Linked DNA regions of Homo sapiens: region 2 is linked to region 1. Evidence: promoter capture Hi-C in 16 types of primary human blood cells and fetal thymus (Javierre and others, 2016). All regions are on one chromosome and are shown on one strand. Each heading gives the region's core, a stretch centred on a gene start or on the middle of the fragment in contact. The rest is flanking DNA. Distances are from core to core; before and after follow the strand shown.

Region 1 (4,008 bases), core at 417-2,916:
AGGTTGCAGAGAAAAAGTAATGCTTACACACCATCAGTGGGAATGCAAATTGCAGCCACTGTGGAAAGCAGTTTGGAGATTTCACAAAGAACTAAAAATAGAATTACCGTTCAATCCAGGAATCCCATGACCAGGTATCTAGCCAAAGAAAAATAAATTGTTTTACCAAAAAGACACCCGCATTCATATGTTTATTGCAGCACAGTAGCAAAGGCATGGAATGAGCCCTGATGCCCATCAATGATAGACTGGATAAAGAAAATGTGGCACATATACACCAACATGCAGCCATAAAAAAGAACAAAATCATGTCCTTTGCAGCAATATGGATGCAGCTGAAGGTCATTATCCTAAGTGAATTAACACAGAAACAGAAAACCAAATACCATATGTTCTCACTTCCAAGTGGCAGCTAAACACTGGATACACATGAACACAAAGATGGGAACAATAGACACTGGGGACTCCAAAAGGGGGAAGGCAAGAGTTGAATAACTACCTATCAAGCGCTATATTTACTATTTGGGTTACAGGATCATTAGAAGCCACAACCTCAGCATCGTGCAATATACTTATGTAACAAACCTGCACATGTACCCCCGAATCTAAAATAAAAAGTGAGATGAAATTTTTTTTAAAAGAAAACCTTTTTGCATTGTATCTGTTTGGGAACCTTTGGCCTCCTGTGCCTGGGTGTCTAAATCTCTTGCTAGACTTGGGAAGTTTTCATATAGTATTTTGTTGAACCATTTTTCCAACTCTATTGTTTTCTCTTTGCCTTCTGAGACTCCAAAATTTTGAATATTTGGTCACTTTATGGTGTCCTACATGTCATGTGGGTTTTGCTCATTTTTTAAAACATCTTTTTTATTTTTGTCTATATGAGTTATTTCAAAAGGAAATAGTCCACTTCAAATGGACTACTGCACCATTTGCTCCGTTTTAAAATATTACTATGCCTTAGGAAGCAATCTAGCCAGGAGGGTTATTTGACCTCACACAGGTATTGCTTTCCCACCTGTAATGCCATTCATCCAGAACTCCCCCTAACCCAGCAAGACTCTATTCAGTCATCAATCACTTCTTTTAGAAAACGTACCCACTACCCATATCACTCTAGAGTTGGTTTCGATGCCCTTGTGTTATTCTTAGCATTCGTCATACTGTATGGCAATTCTGTTTCCTCTATGGGGCTGCGAATGTTTCCAGGAACAAGAATAGGCTTCATCTTTTTCTTCCTCATACAGGGAAGTGACTGACATACAGTAAGGCATCCCACAAATTGTTCAATGAATCAACAGGAGGTGCAATGGCCAGAGGAACAATTTATACGTATGTAAGGCTATGTAAAGGCACGTAAAGCCAAACCGCTGTGAAAACCGCCTTCAGAAGTCAGTCGGCTACTAGGCAAATATACAGAAGCACACAGGACAAATCCATTCATTCTCCAGCTCCTACACGCCCGGGAAGCAGTTTTACTTTACAGCAAGTTCAAGAGTCGCACCGCAGATGCTGTAAAAACGAAAGAAGCCCACAGTTGGGACGAGGATTCCAGTTTTGCGTCACCGTCAAGGCGGGAAAGTTCCCGGCTGTCGGTTGGAGGGTGGGTCCTCGCCCCGCCCCGCCCCCTCGGGCCGCCCTTCCGCGCTTCCGGGAGGCTTGTCCCAAGCTCACGGACCCCTCGCTGGGTGCCGGTTAAGACCCCGCTCCCCGTCGCCAGTGCTATGGAGGCGGCGGCGGCGGTGGTGGCGGCAGAGGCGGAAGTGGAAAACGAAGACGGCGACAGCAGCTGCGGGGATGTATGCTTCATGGACAAAGGCTTGCAGAGGTAAAGGGCGCTCCGCAGCCAGGAGCGACCCGCGCACTCCCCAGAGCCGGGGCCACGAGTGGCTGGCGGCGACACCAGAGTGGAGGCGCGGCACTGCTTTACCAAGACCATAAGTGAACGCAGTCTGGCTTTCGGCCTCCCCGCTCCTCCAAAACTTACCTGCCGAAGTGCCAGGTTGAATGAGCCGTGGATGCCTTCCCGCCCGTGTCTCCTGCCCAGCGTTTCACACGACTCTGCTTAGCCTAGAAACTGCCCCAGGACCTTGTCCTCCACCAGCTTCTGACCACTCTTTCCTTCTGCTGGTTTTCCTTACTTACTGGTGGTTATTCCTTTGCTTGCCGTTTAATTGCTGGTTTTCTCGTGTTCTCTCGTCTTTCCTGTTCTTACCTCTGAAAAAAACCTGCAGGATAGTATCTCTGGCAGCTATGAGCGGGCAGTCGCTGCTGCCTGTTAGTTTTGCCTCAGTTCTCCTTGTCTGCATTCGAAATCATTTGTCCGTTACAGAACATTGCAATACATATATTCATATACTTTTTGAAAGTACTAAACTTACTATATTTAGTTCATCGTTTCCCTCTCTCTTGAAGCCCTGACTTGTGCAAAGCATATGAGGCACTTGGTTCTGTAATACTGTAAAGCAGGTCTCCACCTGCATTTCAGGCTCTTTAGTCTCGACCCGTAACATTTCTCCACTTACACTTTATTTACCTGTACTGAGCTACAGGCAATTCCATAGCAGACTTCTCTGTGCCTTTGCACATGCTGTTCCTTTGTAGCGTGTCCTCTACGCGAACTCTGCTACTGATAATTAAGCATCTTGTTCTGGATTCTGATTTAAACTTTGCCAGATGATCCCAAGAAGATGCTGTTCAAGGGACATTTTACATTTCTATTTAATACTAGCTGCCATTTACTGAATGCTATCTGTTGTGTGCATGTTATATACATTATCAGTAATCCTCACAGCAATTCTACAAGGTAGTAATTTTTCTCATTTACAAGTGATGAATGAGACTCAGAATCTATTGACAATTTGTTCATCTTTATACACTTCATGAAGAATTAAGTTCGGATTCAAACCCATTTTCCGTCTAATTTCACTATGCTTTTTCTATCTCACATTATCTGCACATTATTAATGTCGAGAAACTGAAATGTGTCAGAAAGTAAATGACTGTCATTAAGAGCATGTGTTAACAGCATAAGGTCTGGCACTAAATAAGAACTCAAGTAAATGACACAGCAGGATAAGTGGGAAATGCCCCAGATAGTCACATTTAAAGGTTGCTAGTTTGAAATTTGCAAATGCTTCCCTGCTGTCAGAGTTAGGTTTCCTACAGCTGTAAGATAGCTGCTACTCAACCTACAGCAGATGCCCGTGACATTGTGTGTTCCTGGGTGTATCTCCCATCTAGCAACTCCAAACTGTGTATGCTGTAGTTTGTGTTCCTGGAACTACTATCTTCAGGAGAAGCTTCAGTTATAAATAGTAATTGGAGTGAAGAGATGAGTTCTGTTTAGGGGAGATCCATTAACTTTCAACAAGGGAGGACAGGGACTTTTTCAATAGGAATTGCAATAACATGGTTTGTTTTTGAAAATGCAATAGACTGTGGATTAAATAGCTATTGCACACAAAGAAGAAAATAAAGTTATAATCTCCAGCATGAGATCTGGATTTACATATGCTCTGTTAGCTGCAAGAATTTGGGCAAGCTATTTAATTTCCATAAATTTAGGTATCCTTAAGATACCCACTGCTTAGAGTTATTGTGAGAATTAATTGAGGTAAGAAAACTGAGGCTCAGGTTGTCATTTGCTCAAATCACACAGCAAAACCGTGATAGAATGCAGATTCAAACTGGGATATTAACATTCCAAAGCCTTTACAGTTATTGACTACTATTCAGCACTGCCTTCAATATATGCTGATGACTGCACACAGGAGTTAGAAATGCCCACTGTCACTTGCCTGCCTTGAGCGGTTTCTTGTTTGTATAAATAATCCAAAATACTTGGTTGTGTTGTAAGAAGCACCGTGTTTTGTGAGACATTTCAAAGGTACCACAAATAGGAAAGATTTCATTCTAGAATGAATAGAGCACATATTTAGTATCTACGTGCTGTTTGGTTAATTTTAGTTATTTGGTCATGCTTTTAAAATCTATTTTTATAGTATA
Region 2 (4,008 bases), core at 850-3,349, 930 kb after region 1:
TCTCCCGCTTTGTCTGCGAGTGCCAATGGAGACTGGCCATCTCTTGGAAATATGCCAGTCCCAGTCCCGGGTCCTCTGCCTTGGTTGGTGCCTGGATTAGTGAAACCCTCAAACCTAAGCTGTGATTCACAAATAACTCTGGGGTGGCTTCTCCACTCTGGAGGGGGGCTTTATTTCAGATGAACTCTGGCAGAGGAAGAAGAGTCCCTGGGTTGCTTTAAGGACATTGGAGTGTGTGCTAAGAAGTGGTCACGTTCTCGATTCCTTTCCCTTTTGCTTTCTTTTTCCCTTCTAAGCACAAGTCTGTCCTAAAGGCCATGAAAAGCTCTCTCCCGCATGATCCACCCCCTGCTCACTATTCTGCTTGTCTCTAACTCACACCTGTGGGTAGGGGAAAATGGCAGTGACTGTGGCCAGGAATGTCCTTAGCGCTGAAGCAATGCTAATGCAAGGCGCCCAGCGCTGAGCTTCGCTAATCGCTTCAAAACTGAAGCCAGCTCTGGCACAGAGTGAAACAGCATGCTTCTGAAGTTGCTCTAAACTGTGGCCAGAGCCGCCACACCAAGTTGGTACCAGGAGACCTGCCTGGGGCATGAATCTAACTTTAGACATTTTGTGAGAACAAGGAGATCTCCGCCTCTAGATCCAAAAGAGAACTACCCAGCTGAACCCAGTCGGTTAATCCCCTGGACGGCTCCGTAAACACGCAGCAGCCTCTGCATCCTCCTGCTACAGACTCACTGCCCCACTTTTTAAATGCCGGAGGTGTTGATGTTGAAGGGGGCTAGGAGGTGTGGGTGATCAAGGACTCAATATAAAAGTCCAAGATTTTCCTACTCTCCCCAAACCTTTGCAGCATCATGGGAAGCAAATGTAATTGGCTTCTCTCTGGCTTTGCTGTGGCATAAAGTATCCAAGGAAAAGCTTCTTGCTCTTACTTTTCTGCTCTTCTGCTGAGACAAGCATTTGCCTTCACCAGTGGGAGGAGATTCCATCTGTGCCTAGATGATTTATTATCAAGAAAATGTGTTAATAATTGATAAGGAATCCTATAAAAATAAAATCATAAGTAGCCAAAATATAGATGAAGAGGCTCTCTTATCACAAACTAGGTATGCTTTCAATAGATAAATGACCCTCCTATAGGATATCTGCTGGGAAGAAGAACTAGAGATCTATTTTTAAATCCAAGTCATCATTTTCATCAGAGGTTCCCCAACTTTTAACTAGCATAAAGATATTAATTCTACATAACACACTAATTCATTCAATTTCCCTAGAAACAGTTCTTTATGCCAGTTTATTTTAGAAGAAGGTACACCAAGAGGGGACACTAACAATAAAAATCATGTGACACTTTATGAAATTTATTTTATGTATCAGAAGTAAGTATTTTGCCACAGTCACTTTAAGGTTTTTCAAATATTAAAATAATCCATGCCATTTACTGTGGAGTTTTGGTGGCCTTTGTTGCCCCTTCTTTTGGGCACTGCAGCAGGCTCCAATTTCTGAAGAAAATCCTGGTGGCATCCAAGGATATGCCCTCATCCCACCTCCATGTGGAGGGGAGGCAGCTTCTGTCCAGCGTGTGTGTGGCACAGGTTGTCAGCCCAGCCCACTGGCTGCCAGCTCACCCACATGGCTGTGCCCTGAGCTGGCACTGCAGGCAGCCACCTTGCAGGTAATGTCACGTGTAGGACCTGGAATCACTGCTGTGCAGTGCAAACCAAAATCAGGGTGAGAAACAATATTTCTGGAATATTATTTGAAAAGCAAGTAAGCTATTCCTTCATTTGAATCTTCTAAAAATCCCTCTCTCCAGTAATCCAGACAAACATGGAGCTCCATCCCTGGACCATGTTCTTTTGAGCTCCCTGGACTTGTTTTCATCAAATTACCCACTGGCCGACATTGAGGGACATTATGAACAAGAACCTGTGGAAACTGCTCACTGTGTTTACTACGAGGATGTTGCTGATTGCATTGCACTTGTTAATTACATTGTACATCCTCCCTGGGAGATCCCACAAGAAATTCTTTTCAGTCTGGGTCAGGAATGAATGTGCTTCCCTCAAGCAACTAATTAAAATTATTTGTTGTAATTTTATGACCACATTGAAGCATGTATCTGCTTTCTTCTTTGAAGGGATTACCAGAAAACGAAGTCAAATATAAAGTCGCCTTCTGTAATTTATGGGTTTAAATGTTTTATATTTTTGTTTCTAATTTTTATGTGAGAATATTATCTTAGTTTTTCCTATCCCTCCTACTTTCAGGGGTTTTTTTTCCTGCATTCCTTTTCCACTCAATTCAAGTGGCCTTTTATCTCATTTTTATCTATTTACGTAAGATACCTTAAAACCTTTAAAACAGGAAAATGAATAAATAAACAGACAGTAATATCTGGTACTTTCAATTCATTATTTCTCAGAGGCAAATAAGATTCTCTCTTTTCCTGAATTTATATACCAAGAAATAGAATGTAATTACATAATTTTATGGAATTGGAACAATTACATAGAATATTGTTCTGAACAAATCCACTAATTAATACTGAAAGCACCATTTCATAAAACATTGAAAGTAGGGCCATAAAGCCAAGGCCAGAGACAAGAGAAAGACAAAGAAAGTGGTTTAGGACACCAGGGCTCAGGGAAGATACCACATATTTTCTTCAAAGCTGCAAACCACAGATGATGATTTCCATGTGTAGTGGGTGGCACAGTGACCCCTAAAAGATACATCCAAGCAGAACCTCAGACTGTGACCTTATTTGGAATGAGTCTTTTCAAATGTAATTAAGGTAAGGATCTAGAGATGAAATCATCCTGAAATAGGATGGAACCCTAAATCCATTGATGAGAATCCTTATAAAAGACAGAAAAGGAAAAGACACAGGGACACACAGAGGAGAAAGCCAAGTGAAGACTACAGCAGAAACAGGTGGGCAGCCATGAGCCATGGAGCGCCAAGGGCTGCTGGCCACCACCAGAAGCTGGGAGAGAGGGACAGAGCAGATTCTCCCTCAGAGCCTCCTGAAGGAACCAAACCCGGAGACACCTGGATTTTGGACTTCTGTCCTCCAGAACTGTGAGGGAATGAATTTCTGTTGTTTTAAGCCACCTGGTTTGTGGTATTTTATTACAGCAGCCCTAGGAAACTAATGCACCGTCTTAGGTCTCAAGATTGAAATTGAGGTCATATTAACTCATGTTTAAGGTTTTAGAACCTCCCTCTGTGAATTTAATTCTTGTTAAAAATCACTTTTTAAAGTAAAGCTTCTAATGGCCAGTTGTGGCGGCTCACATCTGTAATCCTAAGACCTTGGGAGGCTGAAGTGGGAGGATTGCTTGACGCCAAGAGTTCAAGACCAACCTACCATTATAGTAAGACCTCATCTCAAAAAATAAAAAAGTAAAATTTAAAATAAATAAATAAAGCATCTGTAGTAAAAGTTTTAAAAAAATCCCAAGCACAAGTCAATCATTATTAGTCATATTAAATGGAAAGTGTACATTAGCCTAAAGATTTTAACTTTCCAGAATTCTATTCATTTTTCACCATCACGTATTTATATGTAGCTAATAGACAATGGTATAATATACAATAGTATGAAAAGGTGACTACAACTCATGTGAGCATGATTTCTGTTCTACAGGTTATGTTAAACATTATAGAACCCTTCAAAACATAGTCATTAACATTCTGTATATGTCATTGAAGTAGATCTTTTAAACAAACATTTTTAAAATATGGCAAGCAAAGCTGTCTTCCTCGGTACTGCCTATGGAGATGGCAGTCATCTTCTCCATGGCATCATGGCCGTTCTCAGATCCCTCATGAAGCCCAAGATCATCAAAAAGAGGACCAAGAAGTTCATCTAGCACCAGTTAGACAAACATGTCAAAATTAAGCGTAACTGACGGGAAACCCAGAGATATTGACAACATGGTTCGTAGAAAGTTCAAGGGCCAGATCTTGATGCCCAACACTGGTTATGGGCGCAAC

What was found. Contacts are between HindIII fragments. The CHiCAGO score rates a contact against its expected background, and 5 or more counts as called.
Region 2: a contact is called between a fragment that was not itself captured here and the fragment with the promoter of LRRCC1 in region 1, in 1 of 17 cell types (total B cells). The highest score is 6.2, in total B cells.

What each region holds. Positions count from the first base shown.
Region 1 is chr8:85,105,572-85,109,579 of GRCh38, forward strand. It overlaps LRRCC1 (leucine rich repeat and coiled-coil centrosomal protein 1), which reads left to right and starts at 1,667. Exons shown (of 19, transcript NM_033402.5): 1 at 1,667-1,828. The coding sequence starts at 1,725. It overlaps LOC105375933 (a long non-coding RNA gene), which reads right to left and starts at 2,291. Exons shown (of 3, transcript XR_929117.3): 1 at 1,988-2,291. RefSeq lists an enhancer at 1,779-1,838. The HindIII fragment of the contact is 5,185 bases long and covers 1-3,300 here.
Region 2 is chr8:86,039,284-86,043,291 of GRCh38, forward strand. It overlaps the pseudogene RPL32P4. Among named protein-coding and RNA genes, the nearest start is that of PSKH2, 28 kb to the right of the region's middle. The HindIII fragment of the contact is 2,354 bases long and covers 923-3,276 here.